Linked DNA regions of Homo sapiens: regions 1, 2, 3, 4, 6 and 7 are each linked to region 5. Evidence: promoter capture Hi-C in 16 types of primary human blood cells and fetal thymus (Javierre and others, 2016). All regions are on one chromosome and are shown on one strand. The core of a region is centred on a gene start or on the middle of the fragment in contact, and the rest is flanking DNA. Distances in the headings are between cores, read along the strand shown.

What was found. The method cuts DNA at HindIII sites, captures the fragments that hold promoters and counts their contacts. A CHiCAGO score of 5 or more calls a contact.
Region 1: a fragment that was not itself captured here is called in contact with the fragment with the promoter of PABPC1 in region 5 in 1 of 17 cell types (monocytes); the score reaches 6.1 in monocytes.
Region 2: a contact is called between the fragment with the promoter of AZIN1 here and the fragment with the promoter of PABPC1 in region 5, in 5 of 17 cell types (monocytes, total B cells, fetal thymus and 2 more). The highest score is 14.4, in monocytes.
Region 3: a contact is called between a fragment that was not itself captured here and the fragment with the promoter of PABPC1 in region 5, in 1 of 17 cell types (neutrophils). The highest score is 6.7, in neutrophils.
Region 4: a contact is called between a fragment that was not itself captured here and the fragment with the promoter of PABPC1 in region 5, in 3 of 17 cell types (fetal thymus, monocytes and neutrophils). The highest score is 7.7, in fetal thymus.
Region 6: a fragment that was not itself captured here is called in contact with the fragment with the promoter of PABPC1 in region 5 in 2 of 17 cell types (monocytes and total B cells); the score reaches 7.4 in monocytes.
Region 7: the fragment with the promoter of SLC25A32 here is called in contact with the fragment with the promoter of PABPC1 in region 5 in 2 of 17 cell types (neutrophils and monocytes); the score reaches 11.0 in neutrophils.

The regions. Positions count from the first base shown.
Region 1 is chr8:103,032,787-103,035,697 of GRCh38, forward strand. All of the region lies in intron 1 of ATP6V1C1 (ATPase H+ transporting V1 subunit C1), which reads left to right. Among named protein-coding and RNA genes, the nearest start is that of ATP6V1C1, 13 kb to the left of the region's middle. The HindIII fragment of the contact is 3,124 bases long and covers 86-2,911 here.
Region 2 is chr8:102,862,824-102,865,637 of GRCh38, forward strand. AZIN1 (antizyme inhibitor 1) reads right to left here and starts at 1,340. Exons shown (of 12, transcript NM_148174.4): 1 at 984-1,340. It overlaps MAILR (macrophage interferon regulatory lncRNA), which reads left to right and starts at 1,448. Exons shown (of 3, transcript NR_126339.1): 1 at 1,448-1,800. RefSeq lists enhancers at 1-217, 1,686-2,418 and silencers at 567-796, 1,457-1,806. The HindIII fragment of the contact is 10,250 bases long and covers 1-2,814 here.
Region 3 is chr8:98,107,977-98,110,676 of GRCh38, forward strand. RIDA (reactive intermediate imine deaminase A) reads right to left here. Exons shown (of 6, transcript NM_005836.3): 2 at 670-775. Among named protein-coding and RNA genes, the nearest start is that of RIDA, 7.8 kb to the right of the region's middle. The HindIII fragment of the contact is 5,866 bases long and covers 1-2,700 here.
Region 4 is chr8:102,840,921-102,843,620 of GRCh38, forward strand. It overlaps AZIN1 (antizyme inhibitor 1), which reads right to left. Exons shown (of 12, transcript NM_148174.4): 3 at 2,631-2,700. Among named protein-coding and RNA genes, the nearest start is that of AZIN1, 22 kb to the right of the region's middle. The HindIII fragment of the contact is 4,465 bases long and covers 1-2,700 here.
Region 5 is chr8:100,720,646-100,723,345 of GRCh38, forward strand. It overlaps PABPC1 (poly(A) binding protein cytoplasmic 1), which reads right to left and starts at 1,443. Exons shown (of 15, transcript NM_002568.4): 1 at 746-1,443. The coding sequence starts at 938. RefSeq lists silencers at 620-729, 1,410-1,489, 1,570-2,279 and enhancers at 682-1,514, 1,569-2,069, 2,070-2,570. The HindIII fragment of the contact is 6,173 bases long and covers 1-2,700 here.
Region 6 is chr8:102,821,349-102,824,048 of GRCh38, forward strand. No RefSeq gene overlaps it. Among named protein-coding and RNA genes, the nearest start is that of GASAL1, 16 kb to the left of the region's middle. The HindIII fragment of the contact is 2,997 bases long and covers 1-2,700 here.
Region 7 is chr8:103,413,706-103,416,405 of GRCh38, forward strand. SLC25A32 (solute carrier family 25 member 32) reads right to left here and starts at 1,402. Exons shown (of 7, transcript NM_030780.5): 1 at 1,079-1,402. The coding sequence starts at 1,232. DCAF13 (DDB1 and CUL4 associated factor 13) reads left to right here and starts at 1,681. Exons shown (of 11, transcript NM_015420.7): 1 at 1,681-1,811. The coding sequence starts at 1,742. RefSeq lists enhancers at 1,068-1,689, 1,423-1,762. The HindIII fragment of the contact is 9,226 bases long and covers 1-2,700 here.

The sequences.
Region 1 (2,911 bases), core at 398-2,897, 2.3 Mb after region 5:
TAAAGGTAAATATACATTGATCATTCAACTTAGAAATTCTACTTTTAGAATTTTTTATCCAAGAGAAAAATATATCTTCACAAAAAGCTTTGTAGAGGAATGTTCATAGAATCTCTATTCTTAGTGGTCCCAAACCAGTAGTAACAATCCAAATGTTCATCAACTGGTGAATGTATGAACAGACTATAGTAGATGTATGTGGTAGAATACTAAGTAATAAAACAGATTGAACTACTAATACATACAACACGGACAGATATCAAAGACTTGCTGAGCAAAAGCCAGGTACAAAAGAGTATCTAATGCATGCTTCCATTTACAAGGAAATTCTAGATCAGGCAAAACTAATCTATAGTAACAGAAAGCAGACCAACATTTGCCCAGGGCTGGCAGTGAGATAGGGATTGACTGGACTGAGTGTGAGGGAAGGTTTGGGGATGATAGAAGTGTCCTTAATCTTGGTTTTGACAGTGCTCACACAGGTGTATACATTTGTCAAAAACTCATCAAACTCTTACAATGGGTGCATTTAATTCTATATAAATTATATTTTAATAAAGTTGATTTTATAGAAAAAACGGGAAGTGAGGGAAGCTAACCAACTATAATCCAGGTGCTTGATGTTATCTCATTTAATCCTCACAGTAATTTTTATTGAAGAATATTCAGCAAATATCTTCTGAGATTCTACCATGCTGGTCTCTGTGCCAGGTACTGAGGATAAAGTGGTGAGCAAAAACTATCATGATTTCCACTTACCGTCCTGGGCAGTTTATTTGAAAGACAGATACTAGTAAAAAGTGCTCCCCCACCCCCAGAGAAATACTACAAAGAAGGTTCTATGAGAGCATATAATACATTCATCCTTAGCATATAATATATGCTGTCATATGATATATAATGAGACACATACTACATAATATACCTTGTATAATATATAAGATGCTTTATGTGCCCTGGTTTCTTTGTAACTACTACCCCTCTAATGGGGTTTCTCTAACTACTAAGTGAGTTAATACACGTGAAGTGTTTTGACTTGTGCTAGTAGATAGGAAGTGCCCAGTAAGTGTTGGCTGCTATGAACATTTGACAGTTCTAATTGTCTAATACTGCAGGGGTACACCTATACTAACTCAGGGAACAGTGGAGTAGGACTACATATTGGGGAAGAGATGATAAGTTTGACTAGAAGTGTTGGGTTTTAGCTGCTTTTGAGACATTCAGGTGGAAAATGTCTTGTAGTCAGATGTGGATACTGGTTGAGTACAACTCTAGATGCTGCAGAGGGCCCTGGGCTGGAGACATACATTTCAGAAAGTGTCCAGCATCTAGACTAGAATTGCCTCAACTGTAGAGATCATCATCAAGAAAGGTGCTATACACACACATTCACACACACGCAGAAAGAGAAGAAGGACATAGACCTGGATCTGAGCCTTGAGAAACTACGATTTAATCAGGGTGCCTTTTTGATCATCATCTCCTCTGTTTAGCATATGATTTTGCTACATTTAGGCCTGACTTCCTTCGTATTCAAGATAAAATAAAGGGAAATAATTACGAGTAAAAACAAGCAGTGGAGAAGGTGGTGTCAGGTTCTTGGCAAGTTGATAACAAATGGCCACTAATTTTGACAATTTGTTTCCTTGCAGCTGAGAGAAAAAGGGAAATATGTTTAGCAATATGGATTCCATTTTCCGATGAATAAAGACATACATATTCATCTGCAAAGATAAATTTTGTTTGAAACTAAACTTAAATTGTTCTTAAATTTCAAGGATAATTTTTTTTTTTTTTTTTGAGATGAAGTCTTGGTCTGTCACCCAGGCTAGGGTGCAGTGGCTCCATCTTGGCTCACTGCAACCTTTGCCTCCAGGGTTCAAGTGATTCTCTTGCCTCAGCCTCCCGAGTAGCTGGGATTACAGGCGCATGCCACCATGCCTGGCTAATTTTTTTGTATTTTTAGTAAAGACATGGTTTTGTCATGTTGGGCAGGCAGGTCTTGAACTCTTGATCTCAGGTGATCTGCCTGCCTCAGCCTCCCAAAGTGCTGGGATTACAGGTGTGAGCCACTGTGCCTGGCCTCAAGGAGAAATTTTTTTACCTGACTTGTGTAAGTGACAAGTTGAGAGCGGTCATAGTTTAAAAATGGAAAAAACAGATTTTGCAAAATACTTATGATGTTAACTGTCATAGGAAGTTGTTACATTCCTCCTTAGGTACTTAAGTAGCTTGTCTTTCCTGTTAGGCTCTTTACTTAGAGTTAGTTTGCTTTGACGAGGGGTAGAAGAACTGAGGCCATGGCTTTGCCTGAAGTACAGATAGGTTCTTTATCAAACCCTCTTTTTTATATTTTTGACTTTATTCACCCTTGACATAAAAGACAAAGGCTTACTTAGGAACCTGCAACTCTACCAATTTTTAATTTTTACTGTAAAATAAGGGTTTTCTGGAAGACTAAAAAACACTTTTAAAAAACATGATTTTTTTTGCGTTTATCTCTAAATCAGACGTTTTGATTGGTTCCATCATTGTTGTATTTGAATTTGAATTTTATTTATTAATTCAACAGGCATTTATTAAGTCCCTGCTATTGCCAGGAATTTAGTGTATTCTGGCTCTCAGGGTTTCACAGAGAAGAAGATATGATTCTAGCTCTTCAGGATTTCTCAGTAAGGTGGAGAGGAAAATATGTTATAAAAATGAGGGAGAATACGATGAGTGCGTAGTAGGGGCATTTATAAAGTATAAGTAAGCAAAGGATATTTCTCATCTGGGATACGGGGGAGAGTCTTGGGAGGTAGGATGGGGTGGGGCAGCAGCTAATACAATCATCCGCAGGAAGGGCGGCCGCATGGAAAGGGGAAGGTCTAGGTACATTATTTTATTCATACTTTCCAACAGCTGGGTG
Region 2 (2,814 bases), core at 90-2,589, 2.1 Mb after region 5:
GTGTCCCCGACTGTTTCGGGTTTCTGAACCAGCAGCTTTGTCTACGAAACACACATTCAGGATACCGTGTAAGGGTTAGAACATGTTACCACCACCAACTGTTGGCAGTCAAGACAGTAGTTGATAAGCCACCCGTCTACCAATCTCCCTCTTTCTGCCTAGGAACCATGGCGCGGACGGAAAAACGAAGCCATGGTGACTAATCCTCAGGCTCCAGGAGGTGACTGGGGTGAGTGAAGGCGACTTGACCCAATCAGGAGCGCCGCAGGGGCGGAGCAGCAGCCTCGAGGCTTCCAGAAGGGGCCAAAAGCCTCTCGCTGGCTACCTGACACCGGGGCTTCCCCGCCGCCAGGCCCCAAGTGGCGTCAACTTTCCTCCACCAGAGGGGGACCGCGCTCCCCGCGCCCCCCAGGAATCCGACTTCCTCCGCAGCTGTCACCAGAGGCCGGCGCGGGGCCCGCCCCGCTCCATTCATAACCAGGACCCCAGCCGTTGCAGCCCACAGCGCCGCCCGCCCGCCGGGCTTCGGGAGGCAAAGGTGGCGGCGGCGCACCGCGGAGTAGGGGCTGCGGGACCCCGGCCCCTCAGGGCTGCGGCCGGGCCCCCTCCCCGGAAACAGCAATGCACCACGGGAGAGGGGTGGGGGCCGCACGCCGCCAGGAGGGGACGGCGACCCCCGGCGGCGAGACCCCCGCGCGCTCCCCCACTGGCACACGCCCCCTCGCCCCAACTGCTGCGGCTCCGGCTCCGCCAAGCGTCCAGCAGCCGCCCGAAGGTCCTGAGGCGCGGCCCGCCGCCCAGCCCCGCCGCCGCCGCCGCCGCCGGGGGCACAGACAGCCGCCGCCGCCATGTTCGAGGCGGCCGGCCGCGGGGCGCTGCGGGGACGTCTTAAGGGCGGCGGGGCCCAGCCGGAGCCCCCCAGCCGCCCCCCAAGGCCAGCCCCGCGTCCTGGCCCCTCCCGCGCTCCTCGGCTCGGTACTCACGTGAGATAACGGCCCAAAGAGTCGGGTAAAGCGTCTTCTCTTTTTCGGCGGAATTTTTAAAGAGGGATGTGGTTACCTTGAGCAGAAATACCCAAGGCGGCCTGGGCCATAGGCTGCGGGAACGACTTGGGGGTAAAAGCGCGGCACCGACACCAGCTGTGTGCAGCAGTGGCGGCGGCGGCCGAAGGAGAAATAGAACAGCGCAGGCAAAAGAAGAAAGGCGCGGGCTGGGTGGGAAGAGGATTCGGACTCGTCACACTGCAGAGCAGCAGAGCGAGAAAGGATGAGAAGAGGCAGAGAAGGCGACGGCAGAAGAAAAAAGGAAAAACTGCGGCCGCGATCAGAGCCTGAAAGTGTGAGAAGGCGGCGCCAGCGACGCCAGTATTTATATTAGGGGGCGTGGCCTGGTGACATCACAGCTGGCCGGGCAGCCGCGCGAGCGGGGCGGAACCCGGTTGCAGCCCGGAGAAAAGGGAGGGGGACGGAAGAGGAAGGAGGACTGAGCCCGGGAGAGAGAGGGGAGGGGTCGGCGCGCGACCGGGTCATGCAGGTGCAGACTGGCCGGTCGCTTCCCGCCCTCCAGCCACCCGCAGCTCCCCGGCAGGCGAAGGGCGGCCGCGCGGGTGTGGGCCGAGAGAGGGAGGCGGCTCGGCTGGAGCGCGCCGTCCGCCCGACCCCCGCCGCCTCTCGGGCGCCTGCGCTCACGCTGCGGGGCCCAGCGCATTGTGAGCCGGGTCGAGCTCCACGCTGGCAGCGTCTGAGAGCTGTCCTGGGCCGGAGGTGGCGCGAACCCTGTGCGGCCTAGAGTGGGCCTGGGGTAAGCCTGTCGGCGCCGCTGCCGAGCCTTCGCGTCCAGCTCCCTCCGCTTTGTGAGGCCTGTAGTTTACCCTGGGGAGTGTCCTCCCGGGCTGAGGCGCCCGCCCTCGGTGATGCGGTACTCCTTTAGGGAAGCGAGTTCCTCGTGGCCAGAAAGGACCGGCCCAGTGTCCGGGTGTTAAAAAGGGTTGTGACCACGTGAAAATGTCCTCAGTGCTCGAACGTTGCAATACGGTGCAGTGGAAATTTTTTAAAGGAATATGGCTTTTATGTCTTCATTTTTAAAAGGATTGGTGGAGTCAGTCCCAAGCAGGACCCGCGTTGGAGAGGGGATTACTGATGTTACAAGCGCACATTACTTCAATCCCCTAGGTCTCATTTTCGCGGTCGTTTTAATTTTTCTACTCCACAACAGACTTTTTTTTACTAGGGGTTCTAAGATTACCTACATAGCTTTTAATTTATTTTCATCTTTTTTAGATGCCTCAGCACTAATGATCATGATCAGAGACCCCGAGTTCTCTCGTGCTGCTACGCTTCGCAACACATAGCACAAATGGAATATGTGTTGACACACCCCTCTGAAGTTAAGATCTTTGATATTAAGACCCTGACTTTTTTCCCTTTCATTCTTCCGAACCCTCTGTGTACTTTGAGCAGCACTGTGGTTGATTAATAAATCATCAAATGTGAAAGGAAGAAAGCGACCTTCCTGTGTGGAAAAGCAGGGTATCTTGCGAGGCTGTATGAGAGAGTATTCGGTAGAATCAGGAGCTGTGGACGCATTCCTGATTTTGTTTTTCCTTATTTTGCTCGGCTATATCTTGGCTCTGTCTTTTATTTCTTCAAAGTTCTGTTCTATTCAGAACATTTGAAAACACAGCCATTCACTAGACCCTCTCTGGTGGAGGAAGAAAAACTAGAGATGAATACAATATTTGAAACCTTGCTTACAATCTAGCAGGGGAAATAAGACAGCAATACAAAATAAATTGTTGGCTGATACAAATAAAAT
Region 3 (2,700 bases), core at 81-2,580, 2.6 Mb before region 5:
CCAGGCTGGTCTTGAACTCCTGACCTCAGGTGATCTGCCCGCCTCGGCCTCCCAAAGTGCTGGGATTACAGGTGTGAGCCATTGTGCCTGGCCTCCCCCAACTAATTTTTGTATTTTTAGTAGAGATGGGGTTTCACCATGTTGTCTAGGCTAGTCTTGAACTCCTGACCTCAAGTGATCTGCCAGCCTCGGCCTCCCAAAGTGCTAGGATTACAGGTGTGAGCCACATCGTGCCTGGCCTAAATTATGGTTTAATTATATTTATTGGATTAAAATTATATTCCCCATTCTTATTTTTAAAAATGTTGACTTTTTACTTCTGTGGTGGTAATTTTTTTTTTTTTTTGAAGAGGGGCAGGTCAGTGGCCCTGAGAAGAAAATTTCCCAATCCATGTGGAAGTGGCAACATGTCATCTGACGTCAATAATTCAGGTTTAAGGTCACCTTAGTGTTAAGGAGGTGGAATCTCTCTTTTGGTTGTTAGATGATTCATGATCCATCAAATTTCCAACTCTTAGATCAAAAACTATGTTAAATCAAGCAGTAAGTAGTTTAAAAAACATTTATCTGTTAATCTCTATAAAACAAATCAGGCAAGTGGATTCTTAATGCTCTTCAACATTAAAAAGGTAGTAGAAAAGGGAACCTTAAATGTGGAAAATAACTTACTTGTTTAGCTTCTTCTGCTACCCCTCCTGACACAAGCTGTCCACTTGAAGGGTCCATGCCTATCTGTCCTGAAATGTAAATGGTCCTGTCGACTAATACAGCTTGACTGCAATAAACAGAAAGCTAGTGTATTTATGTAAGTATAAAACATAAAATTCAATGCTAGAAGACTTTTTTGATAGGACAGAGAAGTATAAATTGTAAAAAAAAAAAAACAGATACATTGGACTTCATGAAAATTGAAAACTTTTGTTTATCAAAGATATCTTTAAGAAAATGAAAAGGGGCTGGGTGCTGTAATCCTAGTGCTTTGGGAGGGTGAAGCAGGAGGATCGCTTGGGACCAGGAGTTTGAGATCAGCCTGGGCAACCACTCAGTCTCTACAAAAAACAATAAAAAACAGCCAAGTATGGTGACGCACACCCGTAGTCCCAGCTACTCAGGAGGCTAGGGTGATTGAATTGCTTGAGCCCAGGAGTTGAAGGCTGAAGTGAGCCATGAGTATACCACTGCGCTCCAGCCTCAGTGGCACTGAGTAACAGAGAAAGACCCAAAATAAAAAAAGGGGTCGGGGGAAGAAAAGGCAAGTCATAGATTGGGAGAAAAATATTTGCAAAACATATACCTAATAAAGTACCTATATCCAGAATATAAGAAGAACTCTTAAAAGTCAATAATGTGAAGACAAACCCAATAAAATATGAGCAAATGATACTTCACAAAAGAAAATATACAAAGAGTTAGAGTACATGAAATTTGCTCAACATTAGTAGTCATTAGAGAAATGCAAAGCAAAACCACACACTAAGACATCACTGATAAAGTAAGCATTGGCAATGATGGGGAGCAACCCTCATACATTGTCGGTAGTAATGCAAAATGGTACAGCCACTTTAGAAAATAGTTTGGCAGTTTCTTTAAAAATTTAAACATATATTTAACATACAACCCAGCAAACTCTTCTTTTAGAGACAGGATCTTGCTCTGTCACCCAGGCTGAAGTGCAGTGGTAGGATGTTGGCTCACTGAAGCCTTGACCTCCCAGGCCCAAGTGATCCTCCCATCTCAGCCTCCTAAGTAGCTGAGACTAAAGGTGTGCACCACCATGCCTGGCTAATTTTTTATTTTATTATTTACTTATTTTTATTTTTTGTAGAGATGAGGTCTTGCTATGTTGCCTAGGCTGGTCTCAAACTCCTGGACTCAAGTGATCCTCCTGCCTTGGCCTCCCAAAGTGCTGGGATTACAGGCTTGAGCCTCAACTCAGCAATTTCTTTCCTAGGCAACTATCCAAGAGAAATGAAAACATATGTCCAAAGAGTTTACGTGAATGTTCAGAATAGCATTATTTATAGCAAAAAAGCAAGACACACACACATGCACCCACTGATAGATCCAACAAAGGACTATATATTGTCTTATTTCACTTAAATGAAACCTTAGAAAAGAAAATAGCAGCAGCAGATTATTAATTGTTGTCTAGGGCCAGGGGTGATCATAAATGGGTACAAGGGAATTTTTTGGGAGTGATAGAAATATTCTAAAATTTGACTATTATAGTGGATGCATGATTCTATACATTTACTAAAACTCATGGAACACTACACTTAATTAAAATGGGTGACTTGTTTTTTTGAGATGGAGTCTCACTCTGTCACCCAGGCTGGAGTGCAGTGGCACAATCTTGGCTCACTGCAACCTCCGCCTCCCGGGTTCAAACAATTCTGCCTCAGCCTCCCAAGTAGCTGGGATTACAGGTGTGAGCCACCACGCCCAGCTAATTTTTGCATTTTTAGTAGAGATGGGGTTTTGCCATGTTGGCCAGGCTGGTCTTGAACTCCTGACCTCAGGTGATCCGCCTGCCTCCGCTTCCCAAAGTGCTGGGATTACAGTCGTGGGCCACCACACCCAGCCATTAAAATGGGTAACTTTTATAAGTAACTTATACCTCAATATAGCTGTAAAGCAAAAAAATGCAATTTCAAGAGCACTTTTAAAAACATAAGTAGTCATCTTCAGACAAGATTAGTC
Region 4 (2,700 bases), core at 23-2,522, 2.1 Mb after region 5:
GGTATTCCGGAGACACAAAGTTTATATTTAATTTGGGAAAAAATAAGGTATTTACGGGAACCACAAGAGAAATGGGATGAAACAACAAGGTATTCAGCTTCCTTTCTTAGGCATGATGTGAGTCTGGAAAATTCTCAGTAGGCAACGAAAAACAAATTTAGGGAGCAGGGAAGCCTTGTATTTAATGAATATTCAACAAAATTAAGCAGGCTTGGGCAAACAATAGGACGATGAAAAGGGAAATAAGTTAGGAGGTCACTATAATGACATGTGCAAAGACGGATAGATAGTGGGAATGGAGGAGATGAATACCAGGATGTTATGAAGGCAAGACCAAGGTTAAATAAGAGAGGACAAACAAAAGGTGGACTGAATGACTTAGAGAACACAGAAGTGTCACCCCAGAGCCAGAAAAGAATGGGGTTGAGGAGTAATCCTCATTGAATGCTACTAAACGTGGGTTAATTTAGATGTGGGATGGAAGGAATATTTCAAAGATTATATCTGACCCCCGAAAAGTGTTGCAAAAAGTCAGAAGAATAAAGTTAAGTGATAAAAATGATCATCAGAATTTGACTAGGAGCTTCCCAGTGGCAACTGAAGAATGGCTTGGCAGAAATTGGTTGACCAATATGACAAGTTTCATGACCAATATGTCAAGTTTTAACAAGTTGAATGGCAGAGGAAGACAAAGGGATTTTTGCTAGGATGAGGGGAAGATGAACACGTCTGCAGACTTAAGGTCAAGAGAAGGAGAAAATTTTGGATATTCAATTACTGAACACCGGTAACATGAAAACAATTATCTAACAAGTTTGGTTGAATACAGGAAATTTCCTCCAATAAAGAAAGATTGTATCAGTTAAGTCTAATATATATATATATAAAAAAAAAAAAAAAAAAGACCAGGCTGGGCGCGGTGGCTCGCGCCTGTAATCCCAGCACTTTGGGAGGCCAAGGTGGGTGGATCACCTGAGGTCAGGAGTTTGAGACCAGACTGGTCAACACGGTGAAACCCTGTCTCTACTAAAAATACAAAAATCAGCTGGGCCTGGTGCTGGGCGCCTGTAATCCCAGCTACTTGGGAGGCTAAGGCAGGAGAATCGCTTGAACCAGGGAGGCCGAGGTTGTAGTGAGTTGAGATCGCACCACTGCGCTCCAGCCTGGGCAACAAGAGTGAAACTTCGTCTCAAAGAGAAAAAAAAAAAGAAAATCACCTTAAGTAGCAGTGAGTATATGATTCTGTAGAAGTTGACTCCTAGAGCAGCAGAGAGTAAGTACTCAGGATAAATTATCAAATTCTCAATGAACATACACAACCAAAATTATCTGAAAGTAAATTAATATCCACTGAAGAATACAACTGAGACCAGGCACAGTGGCTCACGCCTGTTAATCCAACACTCTGGGAGGCTGAGGCGGGCAGATCACATGTTGGTCAGGCGTTCAATACCAGCCTGGCCAACATGGCAAAACCCCATCTACTAAAAATACAAAAACTTAGGCCAGGCGCAGTGGCTCACGCCTGTAATCCCAGCCCTTTGGGAGGCCAAGGTGGGCGGATCACCTCAGGTCAGGAGTTCGAGACCAGCCTGGCCAACATGGTGAAACCCCACCTCTACTAAAAATACAAAAAATTAGCTGGGCATGGTGGCGGGCGCCTGTAATCCCAGCTACTTGGGAGGCTGAGGCAGGAGAATCGCTTGAACCTGGGAGGCGGAGGTTGCAGTGAGCCGAGATACTGCCATTGCCCTCCAGCCTGGGATACAGAGGGAGACTCCATCTCAAAAAAAAAAACAAAAAACAAAAAACAAAAAAAAAACCACTTAGCTGGGCATGGTGGCACAGACCTGTAATCCCAGCTACTCGGGAGGCTGAGGCATAAGGATCCTAAATCAATTGCTTGAACGCAGGAGGCAGAGGTCACAGTGAGCTGAGATCGTGCCACTGAACTCCAGCCTGGGCAACAGTGTAAGAATCCATCTCAAACAAGCAAGCAAAAAAAAAGAATTGAGGCTGGGCGCGGTGGCTCGTGCCTGTAATCCCAGCACTTCAGGAGGCTGAGGTGGGTAGATCACCTGAGGTCAGGAGTTCAAGACCAGCATGGCGAAACCTCGTCTCTACTAAAATACAAAAATTAGCCGGGTGTGGTGGTGTGCGCCTGTAATTCTAGCTAATTCAGGAGGCTGAGAGAGAACTGCTTGAGCCCAGGAGGCGAGGGTTGCACGTGAGCCAAGATCACGCCACTGCACTCCAGCCTGGGCGACAGCGTGAGACTCGTCTCCAAAAAAAAAAAAAAAAAAGAAAATTGAGAAAAATGAGTAAGAAGCCATGTACTGATTAGAAGGTTGGCTGGCATCACATCAACAGAATAAACAGAACATATGTGGGTGCCAGATGCTAAAAGGCATAGAAGGTAAAGGGCCATAGGGAGGATTTTAAAATAATGTGGATTGGAAAGAAAAATGGATCACTACTCAAGGGGAGTGGGTGTGGGGGAGGAAGGTCAAGTTAAATCAGATAGCATATGAACCAAGTACTTCTGATCAGATTACCATCTTGGAAATTAAAAAGCACTCGTTTCAGAGCTTGGAAAATGACAAACACTGTATTTGAGAAATGGCACTTACCAGGGTATGTTCATAAACATAGTTATCAATAACATTTCCAAGGTTTGTTCCTTCATCCAACAGGCCAACG
Region 5 (2,700 bases), core at 193-2,692:
CTGGCCTTCAAAGTGGTCGGCTGCCACATCCCCTCCTCCCACTCTGCCCTTTTAATGTTAGAGAAATGCTTGATCTAGGGGAAACCCCAAATGCATGTCTCCGGTAAATTCCATTCCTAGATCCATCAGTCACTGATGAGTTCTGGGAAGTGGACTCACAAGCCTGAGGACCACCACCACACCACACATCGCCACAGGAACTTTATCCTAAGGCCTGGTGGCTCCCCCAGGCGACTGGGCCAGGAGCAGGAGCAGAAGCAGGCCTCGGGCCTGCGAGGTTACAGGGTTCAACACGTGGTATTTTTCGAGCACAGAACTGCACTTCCTCCCCAGGCTGGGGCGCCGGCAGGAGCTCCGGGTGGTGGGAGCGCCTCCACCTCTTACCCACGGAAGGAGCTCAGCGTTCAACGCCCCAGAATCCCGGGGCCACTGGCGGGAGCGCCGCGGAGGAACCGAATCTCACCCACCCTCCCGGCGCGTCATCACCCTAAAGTTTGAGAGCGTCTGAGGCCGAGAAAATGGTCGCAAAGGAGGAAGTAGCCGGGCGTGTGGCTGCCGGCAGCGCGGGTCCCCGCCGGCTCGGGAAACGCGGCTCCAGGGACCCCGGCGCCTTCCCGCCGGCCGTCGCGGGGTGACATGCCCTCCCGCCCCCCTCCCCGGGCCCGCCGGCCTACCCCGCCCGCCGCCGCCGCCCGAGCCTCATGGCCGCCCGCCCGCCCGGCCGACCGCGGAGCCCGGCGCTCACCGTCCGCCGGCTGCTGGAAGTTCACATACGCGTAGCCCAAGGAGCGGCGGGTGATCATGTCCCTGCAGACCCGGATGGAGAGGATGGGCCCGGCCGGGCTGAACTTCTCGTAGAGCATCGCCTCGGTCACGTCGGGGTGGAGGTCCCCCACGTAGAGCGAGGCCATGGGGTAGCTGGGGGCACTGGGGTTCATCTCGGCACGGCTGCCCGCAGGGCCACAGGCCGCGACCTTTCCGTGAGAGGAGGAGAGCGAGTGCCGGGGCTGGGGGCCGGAGCCGGGGGGAGGGGAGCGGGGAGCAAGCGCAGAGGGACAAAAATCAACCGGAATTGAAAACTACTCAACGGCCGCAGAACGGGGTCGATCCACTGCCGCTGGCTGCCGGCTGCCGGCGGGGAGCGAGGGTGGCGGTGTCGGGTCCGGGCAGCGGGAAGGCCTCGGTCTCTTGGTTCCTTCTTGGAGCTGCTGCGGGGCCGCGGGCGGGCGGGTCGGTCTCGGCTGCTTCACCGGGTTATTTTATAAAAGAGGAAGAAAAAAAATAAAAGTCTCCGGCGGGGGAGACGCGGATTTTTTGTAAATTTTTTTGGGGTTTTTTAAAAGATTTTTTTAGATTTTTTTTGGATTTTTTAATAATAAATGTGTGTTCCGAGCCCGGAGCACACACTCCGCACTCTCAGCACTAACCGCCGGGGAGAAGGGGAAGCACCGCCTCCTGCACCCTCTACTTATACCCCGCGCCGCACTCGCCCCGCCCCCGCGCGTCTGACGCCAGGGCCCCTACGCGAGCGTCAGCGCCGGAGTAGGAGGAGACGCGGAGGCCAGGGGGAGGAGGGAAGAGAAAACAGGAGGAAAGAGCAGAGAGGAAGGGAGAGGTGGCGGCGGTGGAGGCTGCGGTGTGGGGGTGGGGCTCGGGCGAAGGGGCGGGGCTTTTGCGCAGGCGCCGCGGCCGGGGAAGCGGAGCCCGCGCTGCGTCGCGTCCGTGGGGGTGGGGAGGACGGCTCGCGGGCGGTCCTCGGGGGTGTTGGCTGAGGCGTCCCCGCCTTCCGCCCCGCCCGCCCCTGCCTCCACCAGGAGGAGCGTTAACCCGTCACCGCGGCGGTGGGCGGTGCAAAGGGCTTCCGGGTTCCTCCGCGCTAACCACCCCCCACGTGCGCGGCCGCCTGTGGCCTCTTCCCGCTGCGGCCGGCCCGGCTCCTCTAGCCCCAGCTCCGGGGGACGCCGGGCACGGGTGAGCGGGCGTGGTCCCCTCCGGGCCCGGTTTCCGAAACGTGCGTAGATGGAGCCAGCGTGGCCCCCTGCTCTCTCCTACCCGGACCGCACTACGAGTCCCAGCCGGCACCGCCGCCACGCGCGTCGGCCGCAGAAGCGGTGCCTGCTGGGAGCTGGAGTCCCCAACGGCCGCGGCGCTCGCTGACACCAACTGGCTGCGCGGGTCCTGGCCGCCCGCTCCGGGACCCCCCAACCGTCCTGCGCGCTGGACCCCGGCACCGCTGGAGCTCCCGGCGCGGGGTTGGGGGGCAGGGAGAGAGAGGGGAGGGCCCCTCGGGTTCCTCGTCCTCTTCTTTTCCAGCCCGACCCTCCTCCGTGTCTTCACTGGACGTTGTCGTTGGTCAAAGTGGCTTTAATTTGGGATAGCTGTGTTGGGGGTCTTTGGTCACTTCTTACCTTAAGGTGCTAGGCTGGAATCATTGATTTGTGCTGCTTCTGCCAGACATTTCTTGGCGATAGAAACCAGGAGTGGAGAAAAGTGAATGTTTTTCCTGAAAGTACGGGTTTGTCACAATCACTACTATATGGCACCACAGCCCTGCAACCAGACAAAATTAGGAATAGTCTAAAACAACGTCCTTATAAATAACTAAAACAATTCTGCACATTAGTAGTGGGTTTTAATAGGAATGCTAAATTTAACGAATTGATAGTAATAAAAACCGGCTCTAGGAATGACATTAAATCA
Region 6 (2,700 bases), core at 134-2,633, 2.1 Mb after region 5:
GGAAGGTTAGGTTTAAATCACGAAGTAATGAAATCGGAAAGGCATTACTGGGCACTAAACATAGAGAAAATGCCTTGAGTGCATTGAGACAGGTTTGTTGTGACATAAAAACACCACAGAGTAGGCAGGGCACAGTGGCTTATGCTTGTTATCATTTGAGGCCACAAGCTCAAGACCAGCCTGGCCAAACATGGCAAAACTTTTTTTTTTTTTTTTTTTTGAGACGGAGTCTCACTCTGTCACCCAGGCTGGAGTGCATGGCCGGGCAAAACTCCTTCTCTACTAAAAAAACAAAAATAGAAAAATTAGCTGGGTGTGGTGGCACACACCTTTAATCCTGGCTATTCAGGAGACTGAGACAGAATTACTTGAACCCGGGAGGCAAAGGTTGCAGTGAGCAGAGATGGCGCCACTGCCCTCTAGCCTGGTGACAGAAACTGTTTAAATAAAAATTTAAAAAGCACAGAATATATATGTTTCAAAGACTATTACCTAACTTACAAGTTAAAAGCATCCCAACTCATTACGTTTAGAAAACAAGATAGGCTGGGCGAGGTGGCTCATGCCTATAATTCCAGCACTTTGGGAGGCCGAGACGGGCGGATTACGAGGTCAGGAGATTGAGACCATCCTGGCTAACACGGTGAAACCCCGTCTCTACTAAAAATACAAAAAATTAGCCGGGTGTGGTGGCGGGCACCTGTAGTACCAGCTACTCAGGAGGCTGAAGCAGGAGAATGGTGTGAACCCAGGAGACGGAGCTTGCAGTGAGCCCAGATCGTGCCACTGGACTCCAGCCTGGGCGACAGAGCGAGATTCCGTCACACACACACACACACACACACACACACACACACACACACACACACCACTTAAATGCAGAAATTAAAACTCTATTTCTGTATATCACTATGGTAAAGGGTTGTTGGTTACCTGTACCATCAATCCACAAAAGGTATAAAACTTCATGTATTATTCTTATTATCTTGTGCTGATACCAGAGTACCTTTAAAATACCACCCAAATTTAGTTCCGAGAGGCAGATGGAGAGTTTGGATTGTCTCCAAAAATCTAAAAGGCCCTTGTTTTGACAATTAGGTTTACGCATGTGGTACATATTGAGGGGCACATAATCACTGGTGGATTGGAAATGCATACCTATCCTTGTTCCTTCCCTAACTAAAACGGCATTTAAAAGGAGCGAAACTCACCAGGATGGAGAAATCGAGAGATTAAAAAAAAAAAGCAAGCTAGAAAATGGACAGATTAGTTTATAATTTAGCAGCTTCAGGAAATGGAATACCAAGGCCAGCAGTGGGGGCAAAAAAAAACTCAGAAATTAAAAAAAAAAAAAAAACCAAAAAAAAAAAAAAATGAAGGACTTGGCAGCAGTCCAAACCCCTGGAGGTGGGGGCAAAATAAGGATTGGATGAATCTGTCTAACCACTCAAATCCCAGATCCTTTTCCCTACACTGCGCAGTTGGGCAACAGCCCTCTCTCATTTGTTCATTCTCTAGAAAAGGTAGCCCAGTCTCTGGGATGGCAGGGGTGTGTTACACTGAAAGCAGAGGCCCAACCCTCACCCTGCTGGGTTCTAGAATGCTGGTAGACGGTCTATCACCCTTCAGGCACGATACAAATTGATTGAGAATCAGCTAAGACCTTGACATAATGGCATAAAAATTCCCTAACCAATCATATGTCATACAAAGTTCCCTAACTAATCAGCTGGGACAGATCATTTTTTCAGTCGACAAACTGCACTCATGCACTCAGAGCTGCCTGTTGGCTCTTTAGTCCCCACTCAGATACAGGGAATGCTTAGAATCGTTAAGATTTACAGATTATAAAACAAGACAATTTAGGCAGGGCACAGTGGCTCACGTCTGTAATCTCAGCACTTTGGGAGGGCAAGGCAGGTGGATCACCTGAGGTCAGGAGTTTGAGACCAGCCTGGTCAACATGGTGAAACCCTCTCTAATAAAAATACAAAAACCAGACAGGCATGGTGGTGATGCATCTGTAATCCCAGCTACTCGGGAGGCTGAGGCACGAGAATCACTTGAACCCGAGAGGCAGAGGTTACAGTGAGCCAAGAGTGAGACCCTGTCTCAAAACAAAAACAAGACAATTTAGATTGTCCAGAGCTGGAGGAAAGGGGACCAAAGTGATGAAGGGAAAAAAGAACATTCTTAGCGATAAAACATATTGTTGCAACCTTGGCTCAGAAGTTTAAAATTGCCTAAGTGGAAGACAGAAGGCTTGGAATAGAGCTGAGAATCCTCCACCCCACCATACCTGGTGAAAGCAGAGCAATTTGAGAAACATAAAATAGAAAATAGATGGGAGAAAACCAATCAACTCACAGAACTAAAATTCTTAAACTTCAGCCAAGTGTCCCCTCCTCTGCATATTGCTGCTAAAAACTGAATGGGGACAAAGTTGTAGGCACAGGTACGCACCAGATGAAGTTGGGCACCATTATTTACAAATAAAGGTTAGCTGGACTCTGGGGTTAAAAATAATCTAAATAAGATATTGCAGTATCTTTAGCACATCTACACAACCCCTTTGCTCTACTGCCAATGTGCAATCACTTCATCTGTCACTCAATAGCAGATACTTAACTCTTTAATTGCCCATAACTGATCCAGTGCTAATCTTCTCAGGCCATCAACAAATCAACTGCAAAGGGTTTT
Region 7 (2,700 bases), core at 152-2,651, 2.7 Mb after region 5:
ACTCCATAATTTTCGATGATTTTCCTTCATAGAACGGGTTCTTGCTTCCTCTCCAGCTGTCAAAATATTAGCCCTTCTATGGGAAACCCCAAGCCCCAATCTTCCACTGAACCTTAAAGATACACATGGCCATCAGTAATGTAGAATTTTCTTAACGGTTTACCTGTATTTATATTTTGTTTTTGTATTTCTTGATTTTATGTTGTCTAGAATTACCTTTTATATGACTAAGTCTAACGCCTACAATTAAATTCTAAGTTCCCTGAAGGCAAGAACTTTATTAGATACTTCTGTAGCCCATACAGCAGTCTACAAATATTAAGAGAATATAAATCAAGTGAACTGAATTGCCTAATGCTAAAATAAACAACTTCTGTAGATTTAATTCTCAAGGCTGAACTTAACTTGTAATAACTTTATTTGGAAACTATTTTCTGCAATTTCAGTTATCAAAGATCATCTTTGAAACTCTTTCCAGACTTTAGTGTTGAGTTTAACTTCTAAAATGCTTTGTTAATTTCAACATACTCAATTCATCTAATACACTTAAAATAGTATTTCGATTCTAGCTATTTTTTCACAGAAACTTGTACCATTCTACAAATGCCAAAAAACAAACATTCAAGAGAATTCTATTCTAAATCTACTCCCAACCATTCGCTGAAGATTACGCCCTATCCCAATACTAGTCGAGCTGCCAAACCACGTGGGTATGCTAAGATTTCAAAGTTCCTCCAAGAGTGAATGATTTGCACGTGTGAGGACTAAACCTTAAAATGTGACAATCCCTTCTTTATTTTACAAATCAGGCTTTGAATCCCATCTTCTCTGCCAATGAGGATGTTTTTTCTCAGACTTCTCTACATACATGCCCCCTCTCTTAGTCTTGAGGAGCGGGGAAGATCGCAGGCCGACCCCTCCACCAAGCACCATTTCCTCAAATCTAGTTCAGGTTAGCCAACGCGGACAGCAACGCTCCCTTCAACGCTCCTCCTCCCCCTAGAACGGAAAAGACGGAGGAGATCCAGTTCGGGCTGACAGTGAGAGGATGCAGCCCGGTGTCTGGGCGGGCTCTTACCGGCGAAGCGGATCTTCACGAGGTCGAGCGGATGCAGCGCAAGGTTGGATAAGACGCCGCCGCTCACGCCCGCTATCAGGTTCTCATACCGGACGTGGCGGAATACCGTGCTCCACGCCGACGACCCGGACGCCGACTGGCCCTGGCCCGTCATAGGCTCGGGGCCCGTCGACACCACGGCGCCCAGGGCCGCGGAGGTGGGACGCGATGCAGTGGCCGCCACCGTGGCGACGGTCGCCCCTTGTGAGCGCAACCCCACCTCCGGGACCAACGAGAGGACTCTTATGCCCAAGGCGCGTGAGCGAAGCCGGAGACTCTAGTACTGAGGGGGCAAGAACGGGGCACAGACACTACGTCACGCCGGCGGAAAGCGCGATGGAGGGGAGGTCCCAGCCTCTCCCGAGTCTCCGCCCTGCCTCGCCCACAAATGCTCCAGCCCACGGACGCGGAAGCGACTGCACAGCTAAAGAACCGCCCCTTGCTAACGTTTGCCGGCAAAACTACGGAGCGGCGCAGGATCCAGTTGAGCCAGCAGGCCGCCGCTCCGCGAGTCACGTGACTGGAAGTAGTCTGGGAAAAGCGGAAGTCGCCTGTGGGAGGAGGTGGCGGTGGGCGGAACTCCTAGCGGACACCTCGTGGAGTCCGGCCGGAAGAGCAACCGAGATGAAGGTGAAGATGCTGAGCCGGAATCCGGACAATTATGTCCGCGAAACCAAGTTGGACTTACAGAGAGGTAAGATAAGTTGGTAGGGAGAAAGGGACGGTTTCCGCAAGTCGTTGGGTCTAGCCTCGGCTTTCGCGGAGTAAAGCCGGGGGAGGCTGGCACTCTGGTCTGGTTCTTTCTCAGTTACCTTTCGCTAAGGCAAACTTTGTGCTTACGGAGTCGCTGCGGAACTGGATGGATAGCAAGTAAAGTCTGTTCAAGTCCTTTTTCTAAGAATTTCCTCTAGTGGTGAGTGGGAAACAGTTGTCTATAGTGGAGAAAAATTCCAGCTGCTGCTCTGGGATTGTCTTCAGGTTCCTATTACTGAAAAGTGGACTTGAATGAGCCAAACTCGTGGGTTGAAGGGCTGAGAGTTAAACAGGCTTTTAAAACCTTCCTACTGCTCTTCTTGCCGCTTTACTACTTCACATTAGTTGTGGATGTTGGAAGAGACAAAGATGAATTTAAAAGCATCAGTTTTCTCTTACCATCCCTTAAGAAGTTTGATGAAAGAATGGTTAAATGAAATTAATTTATCCTTCCTGGTCTGTTCCCCCGTTAACATGCTAACCACTTATAAATTGTACTTTGTGATACCTAAATGACAAGGGACCAACCATGCGTAAGCAGATTGTTCTAAATAAAGAGAATAACAGGAGCAAAGGTCTTCAGGCAGGAATGAACCTAAGGCATAGAAAGAAGGGCTGTGTCATTAGTTTGAATGAGGAGTAAGCGAGATGAGATGAGGCGAAAACAGTATTTCACTATTTTGGTTGAGTAGGAGATATTATCAACATGTGTGTGAGCATTGCTAATAAGTCTCTGCTCAAAAGATGTTTACAGTTTGTCACAAGGCAGTAATGTTTCTAAAATATAAATTAGATTTGTCACTTGGATTTGGCATCGTTCCCAGTCCTTG